Regions from separate parts of the Homo sapiens genome. Here region 2 is linked to region 1. Evidence: promoter capture Hi-C in 16 types of primary human blood cells and fetal thymus (Javierre and others, 2016). All regions are on one chromosome and are shown on one strand. Each heading gives the region's core, a stretch centred on a gene start or on the middle of the fragment in contact. The rest is flanking DNA. Distances are from core to core; before and after follow the strand shown.

Region 1 (7,214 bases), core at 310-2,809:
CCAGTTAGAAGATAGCAGCATCTCTAAAACTCGAACGTGCCCATGAATTGTCTGGGGATCTGGTTAAGATGCAGATTCTGTCTCAGCAGGCCTGAGACGCTACATTTTCAACAAGCTCCCAGATGGTACTGACGCTACCAGTCTGCAGATCCACATTTTCTTAGGGCGAAGGCTTAGAGGAAGGTTTTCCCAAAGTTTCCTGATAAGAACCATCCAGATGCTTTGCTAAAAATGCAGATCTTGGTCTCCACCCTCCAGACCCATTAAATCAGAACATCTGGAGAGGGCCAGGAAACTGTATTATTTAATGAGCTGATTCTCATCACTGTCCTAGAGTTGGCCCTTTTTTTTCTTAAGATGGGGTCTTGCTCTGTTGCCCAGGCTGGAGTGCAATAGTGTGACCATAGCTCACCACAGCCTCGAACTCCCAGGCTGCAGTGGTCCTCCCACCTCAGCCTCCCAAGTAGCTGGGACCACAGGCATATGGCACTACACCCAGCTAATTATTATTTTTTTTTGTAGAGATGGGATCTTGCAATGTTGCCCAGGCTGGTCTTGAACTCCTGGGCTCAAGTGACCCTCCCACCTCAGTCTCTCAAGTAGCTGGGACCACAGGCACACACCACCACACCCAGCTAATATTTTTATTTTTTGTAGAAATGAGGTCTCTCTCTATGTTGCCCAGGCTGGTCTCAGACTCCTGGCATCAAGTGATCCTCCCACCTCAGCCTCCAAAAGTTCTGGGATTACAGGTATGAGCCACCATACCTGAGGGTTGGCCCTTTTTGATATTCAGGGACCCCTCCCATGAATTTCACTGTCTTTATGACTTTTGTCATTTAGGAGATTAAAAATTACTAATGCCTTGCACCTCTCCCCGCCGACTCTCCACATTCTGATCTTAGTGGGGTGAGGGTGTGGCCCCTGCTGTGGGATTTCTAAGCACTCCCGGGTGGTCGCAAAGTGCAGCCACGGTTGCGAGCCACTGTTGTGGGTGGGTGTGGAGCAGCGTGTGCATGCTGCCCCTCCTCACAGCCCCCTCAAGACAGCAGCCCCCCAGATCCACCGGACCCCAACTCTTCCCAGATATCTCCTCTCTTCCCCGGAAGAGTACTGGACCTGCCCCCTTCTCCATCTTTCCCCAGCTCCTTCTCTACCACACACACCTGCCCTCCAGACCTCTCCCTCTTTCATCTCCATCCTCACATGTGTGTCCAGTTACCCCAAAACATCAGTCTCCTCCTCCTTCTTCTCTTTGCCTCTTTCTCTGCTTTTCTGCATTTGCGAAATAAAAGATTAAAAAAGAAGAGCCATCTGACCAAATCATGTGCAATCCGCATAAAGGTAATATTAATGATAGCTATAAATCAAGATGGGCACATTTTGAAGGGCATTTAGATACGGAAAAAGCCAGCACCGTTCCATAGAGAAGAAAATAAAACCAGAAAGTACCTAGAAATCTTCAAAATCTTCGCAGAACTCTCCACCGACTTCCTTTTTTCTTCTCTGATTACCTTCTCCTTTTAACATCGGCATCCCAAATGCCTTATTTTCTCTTTTTAATTTTGGATGGACTTTTTCCCTTGTCAGGGTTTGGTATTTCAGCCCCACCATGTTAAACACTGCGTTGGGCGCCTGCCTAGTCTTCCTAGACAACCCTGGCGACACTGGCCTGGCAGAGTGTTTTAAGAGCTGGCGTCAGCCCCTCTTTTAAACCTGAAAACCTCGGTGCACCCTACCCTCCTTGCAGAGGGAGGAAGCAACATCAGGTCCCTGCCAGACAGACTGTGACACTCGAAGGTCGCCCTTCCTCTGATACTCGGATTGATGGACTTGACCCTGGGGACTCCTTGGAAAGTTACCTCTTGGACTTCAGTGCCAAGTGTCCTGACTAAATGAGCCTTCCTTAGACCTTCTGACTCCCATCACCTGCCCTTTCCGAAAATACATGTGTCCAGGGTCATTAATCTCATGAATCTTGACTTGTTTGAGGACTTTGTTTCAAAGGGAAAAAAAATTCTATGTTCCTTTATCAATCTAACATTCTTTTCTTATTGCCAGTTGTTGACAACAATCCCTTGGTTTGTGCACACACCAATGGGTTAGATCAGGGATTGGCCAAATTGTCCCATAAAGAGCCAGATAGTAAATATTTTCAGTTTTGCAGGTCATATGCTCTCTGCTCTTCTGCAAAAGCAGCCATAGACAATACACAGCAAGCACAGTGTTCCAATAAAACTTTATTTACAAAAACAGACCAGATTTGGTCTGTAAGCCATAGTTTGCTAACCTCTGGTTTAGAACACAGGCTTCAGAATCAAATGGGTCAGAGTTAGAATCCCTCCTCTTGTGATTTACTAGTAAACTGGGTGGATTCTTGAATGTAAGCCTGTTTCCTCCTCTGCAAGGTGGGAAGCATGGTTATCACTGTGCCAAGCATTTCGTGTTCATCGTCGCATCCACCCCTCACATCAACCCAACACAGGAAGACTATTACTGTCTCCGTTGTACAGGCAGGGAAACTGAGGCTCTGGTAGCTTCACTTCCCCAGTGCCTTACAGCTGGAAAGGATCAACCTGGGGCTCTACCCTGGGTCTCCTGACTCCAGAGCACATGCTCTGAGCTCCTAGGCTCTGCTGCCCACAGCCTCCCCAGGGGAGTGCGGTGAGGAGTGAAGAGGTAGCACATGCAGTGCCTGGCAGCGTCCAAATTCCTGCCATGGTAACCATGTCTGTTAAACAATGGTCATTGGTTTCCAGGCTTTGGAGGAGTACATTACTCAAGAGAGAAACAGAGCGAAAGAGACTTTAGAGGAAGAACGGAAGAGAATGCAAGAACTGGAGAGCCTCCTGGCCCAGCAGAAGAAGGTATGTGGCTCAGGGAGACAGAGTCAGCTCGAGCCCCACTGCAGCTAGGAAGGGTGGATCTGGGGCTCTGGTCTGGGCCCGCCGGCTCTGAGCTCCAGGGCTGTGCTGTCCACAGTCCCCTAGGGAGGTGTAGTCTGGAGGGAAGAGGAAACCTGTGCGGTGCCTGGCAGAGTCCAGTTTCCTCCCATGGTAACCATGTCTATTGAACAATGATCGTTGACTCAGGCTTTGGCGAAAAGCATTACCCAGGAGAAGAACAGAGTGAAGGAAGCATTAGAGGAAGAGCAGACAAGAGTCCAAGAGCTGGAGGAACGCTTGGCCCGCCAGAAGGAGGTACGCTCGGGGAGATAGAGTCGGCTGAGCCCCAGTCGGCTTGAGGGCCATGTGGAAGGAAGTTCAGAGCGGCGATGATGGGGGTGAGATCGTGGTGGAGCCTTCCTCGTGGAGTTTGCGTTTGGGTGGGCTCAGCTACTTTGGGAAGCGTGGGAGACTCAAGGAGGGAACCCTGGAGTTGTAGCCTTGACAACCAGTTGGGAAAAAATTGTAAACAGTGTAAAACACAGTCAGAGAGAGAGAGCGCTTGGGAGACAAGTAGGAATGGTGACATGGGCGTCTTCTGTGTTCCAAAGCACAGAAACGGGAGAATGACAGAGTCATGGGACCTCAGGGCTGCGTGGACCCTCCACCAGCATCCTAAAAGCCTCCAGCCTTCAGCACCACCACTAAGGAATGTTCTCCACCCCAGGACAGTCCGTCCCAGCATGGATGCCTCAGGCCGACAGAAAGTTTTCCCTTTAGGTTGAGTTGTGTCAAACTCTTACGCCCCGGAGGAGTATCAGTCCTCCGCCCTCCCCTGCGCTCCCACAAGATACATCTACTTCCTCTTCCACATGATGACTCAGATGTGTGAAAACAGGGGCGCCCGCACCCTGTGTCTGCTCCTCCCCGGGCCCAAGCGCCCTTGTTCCTCAGGTCCCTCACAGGACTAGAGCCTGGCCCTGGCTGCCTCCTGTGGCCTGTGCTGCTCTCCAGAAGTCACAGACTGGTAGCTCAGCGACTAAAAAGGGCCTGTGGAAGTTATATTTGGCCCCGGAATATTTTACTTTGAATTCATAAAATCTATTTAAAAGTTCAGATTTCCAGCCTCTCCCGAAAAGTCAGAAAATCTAGCCCTTGTTTCTACTTAGCAAAAATGGACTAGAAGCCTTACCGGGTAGCAGCAGTTTGCCAGAGTCCTCACCACTCCCCGTTGCATTAAACACAGCCCACGTCATTTTTGGTATCTGTCCGGGCTTCATAGGCATTGAGTTTGTCACCCATCACCCATTTTCTTCCTAAAGGGAGGTGGCCAGAACCACTGTTCTCCAGCCACGGTAGCCTAGGGGAGGACTCCTCCCTCCCGCATTGAAGATATTCTACTTCTGTTAATGCATCCAAACTAGCTTTTGGGAAAGCTCTGTCACATTTGTGGATTCATGTTTAGCTTGTGGTCACCCTCAGATCCCTGATCCTTTTTCACATCTGCTTTCATGAATTCCTCAATCCTGACACAGCACAGAGGAGTGCGGGCTTTGCAGCCAGATGAGACACAAGTTCAAATCCGAGCTGGGCTACTTCCTGGCTGCAGCAGACCTACCGCTGCCTCCCTTCTCGAAGGGGCGGCTGTGGGCTCAGATCTAGTGTATAATGGAGGGCCTGGCCTGCGGAATGATTGCCGAGTAAACGGCAGCTGTTACTACTGTCTCTGCTGCCACTTGTGCCTCTTCTTCTGTTTGGGCATTTGTTTTTCTTCAACACTGACTCCTTGAGTAAAATCCTTGCCCACCCACTGCTGCAGGAGAAACAAAAAGACCTCTGGGCAAAGCCTGTGCCATTTGATCTGACCCAGGACAGAGAGACGTTTACATGTCGGTTCTCCCTTGGCGTCTCTGGCACAGGTGTGCCCTGCAGCCCTCTCACAGAGCGTCACTGAGGTTTGCCCCCAAGTGATTTCTCCAGGGGTGGGGATGAGGAGGAGGGTCTCCAAAGAGTTACTTGAGTCAAATGCCCCAAGATGTCAACAGCAAAAGCCTGGGGAAGATTCTTGAATTTAGAGACTTTGAGGCCACGGGGCTCAGGAGATAAATTCAAGCTTCATTGCAGAGGATCTGTGGTTGGGTCACCCCGCGTCTGTTAAAATGTCAGCCTACTTCTGACAGAACTTCTCTGTGGCTTCCTATCGGGGGAATTTGAAAGAGCAGCCCCAGCCACAGGCTCCATTCAACTGCCAGTGGCTATTTGATTTTCTTTTTTTCTGTCTCCCAGGCTGGAGTGCAGCGGCATGATCTTGGTTCACTGCAACCTCTGCCTCCCGGGTTCAAACGATTCTCATGCCTCAGCCTCCCAAGTAGCTGGGACTACAGGTGCACCACCATGCCTGGCTAATTTTTTGTATTTCTAGTACAGACGGGGTTTCACCACGTTGGCCAGGCTGCTCTTGAACTCCTGGCCTCAAGTGATCTGCCTGCCTTGGCCTCCCAAAGTGCTGGGATTACAGGCGTGAGCCACCGCTCCCGGCCTGATTTTCTTTTCATTAGATCTTCCGCCACATCATCAGGGTTTTTAAGGTCAACAGAATCACTAGGTCATAATCTGGGTCTTGAGGTCATGTTCAAAGTTAATCCCCATTATCTGTTGTGAACTTGGAAGCACAGCAACTGAGCATGTAGGGCCTGTGTGTGAGCCAGGCAAGGCCTCTCTTACCAATAGTACCTGTCCCGACTGCAGAGAAGCCACCCAGAGGAAGGCCTGGCGAGTGTAGACGCAGAGTCAGACACAGCAGAGCCAACCCTAAGTCCCTAGGAAGTGCCTCAAAGTCTCTTTTACAATTCACAGGAAAATGTCCTACCCTGAAACCCACTTCAAAGGATCCAAATAAACGTGAAATTCTTATGATGTCACTTTTCTTCTGCTTTAAGGCTGGTGTTGGGACAGCAGAGTGTTAGAGTTTTGTCAACTACTTTTCACTGCAAAGTATACAATATCTCAGCCATATTCTGGATTAAACACTTTTTACAGGCTCATCTGGGGCCCTAACCAGTGGTTATAATGGAAACCATGTTCCAAGTTCTAAATGCCTGACAGTGAACCTCGTGTTTGAAAGACAAGCCGTTAGAAAATAGAGGTGGCCCTTCTCATGGTGACTGGAAACAGGCTGGCAGTGTATTTCCTTTGGTGATTTGCATTAAGCTGTTTAGTTGAATAGCTTACCAGCAAGTAACTTCCCAGACAAAACTCCTTGATTAGGGCCACTAAATACTGGCCACACTTTCTTCCCTACATCCTACCAGAACATTGCTTGTCCCTTCTAGAAATTGGTGTATCGTGGCTCATTAGTCCAACATACTGCCCTTCTCTTGAAACTGGATTCTGTTGGAGAGACTTATTTCAATAATGGAAATTCCATTATTAATGAGACTCTTCTTTTGATCAGAGAGGCTGCCTGGCCTCGTGATAGGAAGCTGCCCCCGCTGCTCCCGGGTGCCCTGTCGAGAGCTCTTTATTCAGGCTCAGTGCTTTCCTCTGCGCAGGCTTCAGATCCTGGCCTCACCACTGACAAAGGGTGTGGCTCTGGGCCCTCTCCGACTTCCTGCTCCTCGGTTTCCTCATCTGTAAAATGGGCCACTCTCAGCACTTCTCTGACAGAGTTGCTGTGAGACTGAAGGGCTGGCCAGGGGCCCAGGTGTATTTAATAGCCGCCCCAACACTTTGGCTGTTATTGTTACTATTATTATTATTATTATCATTATCATTACTAGCAATTTCCCCCCTAAATGTGCAGGCCACCAAGAGCACTGGTCGTTGATTTTCAGGTTTTGGAGAGCAGCATAGCCCATGAAAAAAGAAAAGCAAAGGAAGCCTTGGAGTCGGAAAAGAGAAAAGTTCAGGATCTGGAGAACCATTTAACCCAACAGAAGGAGGTATGAGCAGCAGCAGGAAAGAATCCTCTGGAAGGAACTACAAAGCCAGATCCCTGGGAGAGTACAGTGGGAAATCGGGCAGATATCAGAGCCATGCCTCCCTTTGAAGTGGCCAAGATCTGCCGTTTACTGGCTGTGTGACCTCCGGCAGATCGCCACCTCCCCATCCCTCAGTTTCCTCATCTGTGAAATGGGAATGCTAACAGTCCCTGCCTCATCGGATTAGATGCTCTCAGGTGTCAAGTACATAGGACTGCACCCTGCATCCTAGAGGGCCCTCGGGAAGATTTTTCTGCTCTCTGGTTCAGCTACCTAGGAAAGAGGGATCCTCCCAGGAGAGAATCCTGAGTTTCAGCCAGGGTCAGGGGCTTAGTGAGCATCATCCTCA
Region 2 (7,214 bases), core at 2,294-4,793, 110 kb after region 1:
ATTGAAATGAACCCAGCTATATTATGAAGTTGCAAAATTCAAATTAAGCTTTCAGATGAAGAATGAGACTTCCAAGACATTTTGCTATTGTTAGTGCTGCGTGCTAGACCCCAGATCATCACTTTACTGCAAACTAGAGCCTGCAAACCAAATCTGTTTTGTAAATAAAGTTTTATTGGAACATGGCTATGCCCATATGGCTGCTTTTGCACTGCAACGGCCGAGTTGACTAGTTGTGACAGAGACCATATGGTCTGCAAGTCTGAAATATTTAGTATCTGGCCCTTTACACAGAAAGTTTGCCAGCCGCTAAACTACTTGGATTCTTTGATGAAAAGGTTTCAAGAATTCTGTGCTGCTCTAATATCGGAGGCCCGCAGGTCTAAGGAATTAAGAGTAAATGTTTATTGCACAGTTACTATTCTGAGTGCTTTCAGTGAATAAACTGTTGTTTGATTCTAACAATCCTAAGACATAAATGGTATTGTTATTGCTTCTCTTTGATAGGTGAGAAACTCAAGGAATAGAGTGAAATGTACCCTAGCCCAGTGCCTCTCAAATGTTAATATGCAGAGGAACAAAATCATCTGGGGATCCTATTAAACCACAGACACCGAAGATGGGAAATTCTGCATTTCTAACCAGCGACTGAGCTGTGCTGATGCTGCTGGCCCAGGCCACACTCCGTAGAGAGGAGCCAAACCACAGACTCACTACACAGAGGCACTGGGGGTCTTAAGCCCAGGCCCCCAGCCCCTAAGCCACGTGGCTCCTCAGAGTAGTTGTTCTGAATGAGTCACAAACCCCGTGAGAATTTCGCATCTGGCCAGGCACGGGGGCTTACGCATGTAATCTCAGATCACCTGGGGTCAGGAGTTCGAGACCAGCCTAGCCAACATGATGAAACCCCGTCTCTACTAAAATTACAAAAAATTAGCCGGGCATGGTGGCGGGCACCTGTAATCCCAGGAACTCAGGAGGCAAAGGCAGGAGAATCGCTTGAACCTCCTGATGGAGGTTGCTGTGAGCCGAGATGGCGCCACTGCATTCCAGCTTGGGTGGCAGAGCGAGACTCTGTCTCAAAAAAACAAACAAAAAACAAAGCAAAACAAAAAATCCTGACAGCAATGTGATGGAACAGACCAAGCATCTGTTCCTCTCCCTGTTTGTAGATAGGCACCCCGGGCCAGAAAGCCTGTGGGATTGGCCCAAGGTCACACAGCAAATTCACAGCAGGTGTTTGTTCAGTGGCCTCATACAGGACAAACTTTATTTTTATATTAAAACAAACAAAGATACAGAGCAGAACGCCAAATTCACATGAACCTTTAAGATAAAATATGAGACTTAAGAAATAGTTGGTTGCTGTAGTGACTCATACAGACCACAAATGAGTCCAAACTGTTACAGGGATTATGGGATGGAGTTGGGACTGGAATCTACATCTTCTGACATCCAGTCCCATGGGATGCTGCCCCCCACCCAATCTTTCTCACCTTTGCACCATCCTAGGGAGATTGCAGAATTCTTTCCCACCCATTTTCTTACCCGTACAACAATCCTGCAATCCAGGCCTGGATGGTTATCTAGGAAAGTAAGGCCCAGAAGATAAGTGGCTTGTCCAGACCACCACACTCAAAATTGATGGATCAAAGACTTGAACTCGGCTGGGCGCGGTGGTTCATGCCTGTAATCCCAGCACTTTGGGAGGCCGAGGCGGACGAACACGAGGTGAGGAGTTCAAGACCAGCCTGGCCAATATGGTGAAACCCCGTCTCTACTAAAAATACAAAAATAAGTCGGGTGTGGTGGCCGGTGCCTGTAGTCCCAGCTACTAGGGAGGCTGAGGCAGAAGAATCACTTGAACTTGAGAAGCAGAGGTAGCAGTGAGCCGAGATCGCGCCACTACGCCCTAGCCTGAGTGACAGAGCGAGACTCCGTCTCAAAAAAAAAAAAAAAAAAAAAAAAAAAAAAAAAAAAAAAACACTTGATATCAAGTCTTAAGAGTGTGGAGCTGGTCTTTTTTTTTTTTTTTTTTGAGATGGAGTCTTGCTCTGTTGCCCAAACTAAAGTGCAGTGGTGCGATCTCAGCTCACTGCAACCTCCACCTCCAAGGTTCGAGAGGTTATCCTGCCTCAGCCTCCTGAGTAGCTGGGACTACAGGCATGCAGCCCCACACGCTACTAATTTTTGTATTTTTAGTAGAGACGGGGTTTCACCATGTTGGCCAGGCTGGTCTTGAACTCCTGGCCTCAGGTGGTCTGCCCGCATCAGCCTCCCAAAGTTCTGGGATTATAGGAGTGAGCCACCGTGCCCGGCCGTAAAGTGCATTTTCATCCACCAGATGAAGCCCTCCTCTGCCAGCGTTCTGCTTCCCCCCATCATTAGAGTGGCCAGATCCTAATTGTGCATGTCGGCCTTGCCTTCTGCTACATGTGCACCTTCCCCGCATTATGCAAATTCTGCTACATGTGCACCTTCCCCACATTATACAAATCCTTACCACAATGTTGTGAAACAATACTGGGCATGGGTTTCTCTCCCTGTTTCACAGATGGGTCTAGAGACTTACATGACTCAGCCAAGGTCACATTGCAACCCCTGGTATGGCCTAGAACAGGCTTTCTCAGTCTCAGCACCATTGACATTTGGGGCAGGGCGAGTCCTATTGCCCAGTGCATTGTCGGGTGTTTAGCAGCGTCTCTGCTCTCTGCTCCCTGCCCACTGGATGCCAATTTACATCAACCCCAGCCATGACAACCAAAATTCTCTCCAGATGTTGTCAAACGTCTCCTGGTGGGCTGAACCAGCCCCATTGAGAAATACTGCCTTAGAATGCTGTGGGCTCAGCATGCCACCTTAATCTTTTCATTGAAAACACAACTCCTGGCCGGGCATGGTGGCTCAGCCTGTAATCCTAGCACTTTGGGAGGCCGAGGCGAGCAGATCACTTGAGGCCAGGAGTTCGACACCAGCCTGGCCAACATGATGAGACCCCCCGTCTCTACTAAAAATACAAAAATTAGCCAGCAATGGTGGCACACACCTGTAATCCCAACTACTAGGGAGGCTGAAGCAGGGGAATTGCTTGAACCCAGGAGGCAGAGGTTGCAGTGAGCTGAGATCACGCCACTTCATTCCAGCCTGGGTGACAGAGCAAGACTCCATCTCAGAAAGAAAAAAGAAAGAAAGAAAGAAAGAAAACACAACTCCTCTCCTCAGTCTTACCCAGGGAGGGGAACAAAAACAAACAAACAAAAAAAAAAACAACTCCGAGCACCAACAATTAGTATTTTTCTTCCTTCCCTAACACACAACATAATCTCTTCAAAACAGATGGAACCCATATTCCAATATCTACCTTTGGCATCTTTTTCAAAGTATTTCTAGGGTGACATTTGGGAGGAAATGGGAAAAAAAAAATATTTGGACACAGCTCTTTTTTCCACTGGGCTTTGAGAAAACCCCATCTTGCGTGCTCTTACTGTATCTCTCACTGATAAGTCCGCTCATAAAACCAGGGCCTTATCCAGGGCCACGCTTACAGAACTCCCACGGACACACCATGATAAGGACGCTGCTGCTGTCCACTTTGGTGGCTGGAGGTAAGTCCTGTTACCCAGAGGCACTGGTTTCCCATGCCCTGGTGGGGCTGGAAATGGGATCTTCCTGTCCTCCCCTCTCGCCCCCACCCAACCCCTACTGCATTCAGACCTATAATCATAAGAACATTGGAATGGAGTTTCAAAGAATTGGAGCAAAGAGCAGGATTCTATGACCTCTTGGGATCCTTCTAGAACAAGGGTTTTCTATTTGGGGGGTCAGAATGCGCAGCAAGTGTAGTTTACATTGTGTGGGTCGCTGCTTCCTGACTCAAGACCCTTTCTCTTTTCACAGCCCTCAGTTGTGGGGACCCCACTTACCCACCTTATGTGACTAGGGTGGTTGGCGGTGAAGAAGCGAGGCCCAACAGCTGGCCCTGGCAGGTGAGTTGACCACACTGTACTTCTCCCCGTCCCTGCCCCACTCCCTTTACATCTCCCCTTTGCCCTTCCACCATGGCGTCTATTGTGCTGGCAAAGTGAGTATTGATGGGACTCAGAGAGCAGCACAGGCAACTTTAGCAATAAGATATATTTCCGGCTGGGCGCAGTGGCTCATGCCTGTTATCCCAGCACTGTGGGAGGCTGTGGTGGGCAGATCACCTGAAGTCAGGAGTTTGAGACCAGCCTGGCCAACATGGTGAAACCTGCCTCTACTAATAATACACAAGTAGCCAGGTGTGGTGGCACACGCCTGTAATCCCAGCAACTGGGGAGGCTTAGGCAGGAGGATCGCTTGAACCCAGGAGGCAGAGGTTGCAGTGAGCTGAAATTGCACCACTGTACTCCAGCCTGGGCAACAAAGCAAGACTCTGTCTCAAAAAAAAAAAAAAAGATACATTTCTGTGGCCTTGGCCAACCTTGGGAGTGGAGGGAGAGGTGCCTCCTCCAGCTGCAGTAAGGAGCTGTCCCCTCCCCACTGCCCATAGGCAGCAAATATAGTATTACTCTATTAACCAATCAGAGGCTTGTTTACAAATGTACCATCAGTCTAGGAACCATTCAAGACTACCTATGCAAACATTCCTTGCTTTAAGGAACCAATCAGTGCTATTTGCGCAGATTAATCTTTAACCACAGGCAAATCAATGTTACCAATGAAAAAAATGTTTTCTTAAGTTGATATAATCATAGTGGTATCAAGACTAAACTGCCAAGTGGGGCACAGGTGTAAATTACTCAGACGTGTTAATGGTGGGGATTTTAAGAGAAATGTGTAAAGTTTACATTGACATAAACAAATATAGTGAAATCTCATTTATCTGATGTAATTGGGACCGAGTAATTGAAAAGTTGGTTATAAAGAAATTATTTTAAATCATATATATATAGTAAAGATTTTATCTTAGACTATGTAAACAATTTTTTGAGTTCTTAACTGTCTTTTTCATATAAGCCATGCCCCATATCTTATCTACAAACCCGTTTCTTTAAAGCAGAGCAGTAACTTTGAGACGTTCACAAAGCAATCTGAGTTATGAGCCCATCCAATCTTTCCATTTTCTCACAGACACTACTTCAAGAGCAATTTTTTAAGAGTCATGGTGATCCAGTCTCTTCCAAGCATTTAACTTTGTTTCCATATAAATAACGACTCTCTTTCTGAACTCATATTTCATTGGTTACATGTTTAATCAAATTTCATTATTACAAGCATAATTGATATAAACTGCTTTGGGAGCAAACCCAGCTGAATCAGGATGAGTTTCTACCTTAAGTAGGAGGAGCAACTAGCAGCCCACTAGCCTTGAGCATTCAGAGTGACCCATGCAGCAGTCACTGTGTTTAGAGAGGCCAGCGTTCATTCATCTGCTCCTTGATTAAGAGACTGTCAATGATAGGCCAGGCGTGGTGGCTCATGCCTGTAATCCCAGCACTTTGGCAGGCCGAGGCAGGTGGATCACCTGAGGTCAGGAGTTTGAGACCAGCCTGGCCAACATGGTGAAACTCTGCCTCTACTAAAAATACAAAAATTAGCCAGGCATGGTGGCGGGCACCTGTAGTCCCAGCTACTTGGGAGGCTGAGGCACAAGAATCGCTTGAACCTGGGAGGCGCAGGTTGCGGTGAGCCAAGATCACACCTCTGCACTCCAGCCTGGGTGACAGAGTGAGATCCATAAAAAAAAAAAAAAAAAAAAAAAAAAAAAAAAAAAAAAAAAAAAAAAAAGACTGTCAACGATAGAATGATGGCAGATATTTCACATTTTTTTCTTTTTTTGAGACAGAGTCTTGCTCTGTCACCCAGGCTGGAGTGCAGTGGCACAATCATAGCTCACTGCAGCCTCCAACTCCTGGGCTCTGGCCATCTACCTGCCTCAGCCTCCCAAAGTGCTGGGATTACAGGCACCCACCACTGTGCTCACCCATAGTAATTTTTTTTTTTTTTTGAGACAGTGTCACATTCTGTCACCCAGGCTGGAGTACAGTGGCTGGTGAAACATGGCTCACAGCGGCCTCGAACTCCTAGGCTCAAGCGATCCTCCCACCTCAGCCTCCCTATCAGCTGAGACCACAGGTGCATGCCCCCACACCCGGTTAAGTTTCTTTTTTTTTTTTTAGAGATGGGTCTCACTATGTTGCCCAGGCTGGTCTTGAACTTCTGGGCTCAAGTGATCCTCCTGCGTCGGCCTCCCAAAGTGCTGGGATCACAGGCGTGAGCCTCTCAACCCAGCCTCACAATTTATATACTTGGCTTTGTGTGCTTTTGCCAGTTCTTTTGCTTTTCTCACAGTCCCACAGTATTTTTTCCCTGAGAATTTGGAAGAAGGGCCACAGTCCCTCTGCTACAGGGCCCCATAACACCGGGCGCATTTGTGCTAAGAACTAATCATTGCTGCCTACAAAAATACTTCCTCACCCTCTTGCACAAAAGTATTCTTGCCTTGAGAACCAGTGAATGTTAATCCATGAAGAGTCCCTATGCTTTGTGCTTCTGTTTCCCTGCGGAAATAAGGCAGATCTAGCTGGGTGGGGACTCAGATGAGGCAAGTAAGACATTCACTCTGGAGGCAAAATGTAAGGGGGTAGCACAAAACTCAGCAACCAGCCAGGAACAGTGGCACACACCTTTAATCCCAGCTATTCAAGGGGCTGAGGCAGGAGGATTGCTTGAGCCCAAGAGTTTGAGACCAGCATGGGCAACATAGATAGCCATCTCAAAAAAAAAAAAAAAATACAAACAAACAAAAAACCTCACTAACGAAGATGAATGATATTTTAATGCAATTTTGTTTCTTCTCCAGGAGACAGAGTCTCATTCTGTCACCCAGGCTTAATTACAGTATGAGTCACCCTGAGAGCCCTGCACAGTGGCTTATGTTCCCCATTTCCAGAGAAGGCAACTGGGACTTGGAAAGGTTACAGAATTCCCCAAAGGCACTGGGTTAGCCCGGGGGGCGAATGAGGATTCAAATCTGGTTCAGTGCTACCTCTTTAGCTACACTTTGCTGGCCACACATAATACGTATTATGTGGGCTAAATTTCACATCTGTACGATGGTTTCAGCACATTTTTAAATTGGGGGGGGGGTACATCCTTTTAAGTATCTTTTTTCACTTTTTCTAATTTTAAACATCTTTTTTAAGACCTCTTAATGTCACACAAACGAGAAA

The links. The method cuts DNA at HindIII sites, captures the fragments that hold promoters and counts their contacts. A CHiCAGO score of 5 or more calls a contact.
Region 2: a contact is called between the fragment with the promoter of CELA2A here and the fragment with the promoter of FHAD1-AS1 in region 1, in 13 of 17 cell types (neutrophils, total B cells, monocytes and 10 more). The highest score is 12.6, in neutrophils.

Annotation. Positions count from the first base shown.
Region 1 is chr1:15,342,324-15,349,537 of GRCh38, forward strand. FHAD1-AS1 (FHAD1 antisense RNA 1) reads right to left here and starts at 1,560. Exons shown (of 2, transcript NR_148919.1): 1 at 1,453-1,560. It overlaps FHAD1 (forkhead associated phosphopeptide binding domain 1), which reads left to right. Exons shown (of 34, transcript NM_001391957.1): 17 at 2,760-2,867; 18 at 3,093-3,200; 19 at 6,719-6,826. RefSeq lists an enhancer at 3,470-3,669. The HindIII fragment of the contact is 5,872 bases long and covers 1-4,996 here.
Region 2 is chr1:15,453,189-15,460,402 of GRCh38, forward strand. CELA2A (chymotrypsin like elastase 2A) reads left to right here and starts at 3,544. Exons shown (of 8, transcript NM_033440.3): 1 at 3,544-3,605; 2 at 3,898-3,986. The coding sequence starts at 3,566. The HindIII fragment of the contact is 8,750 bases long and covers 47-7,214 here.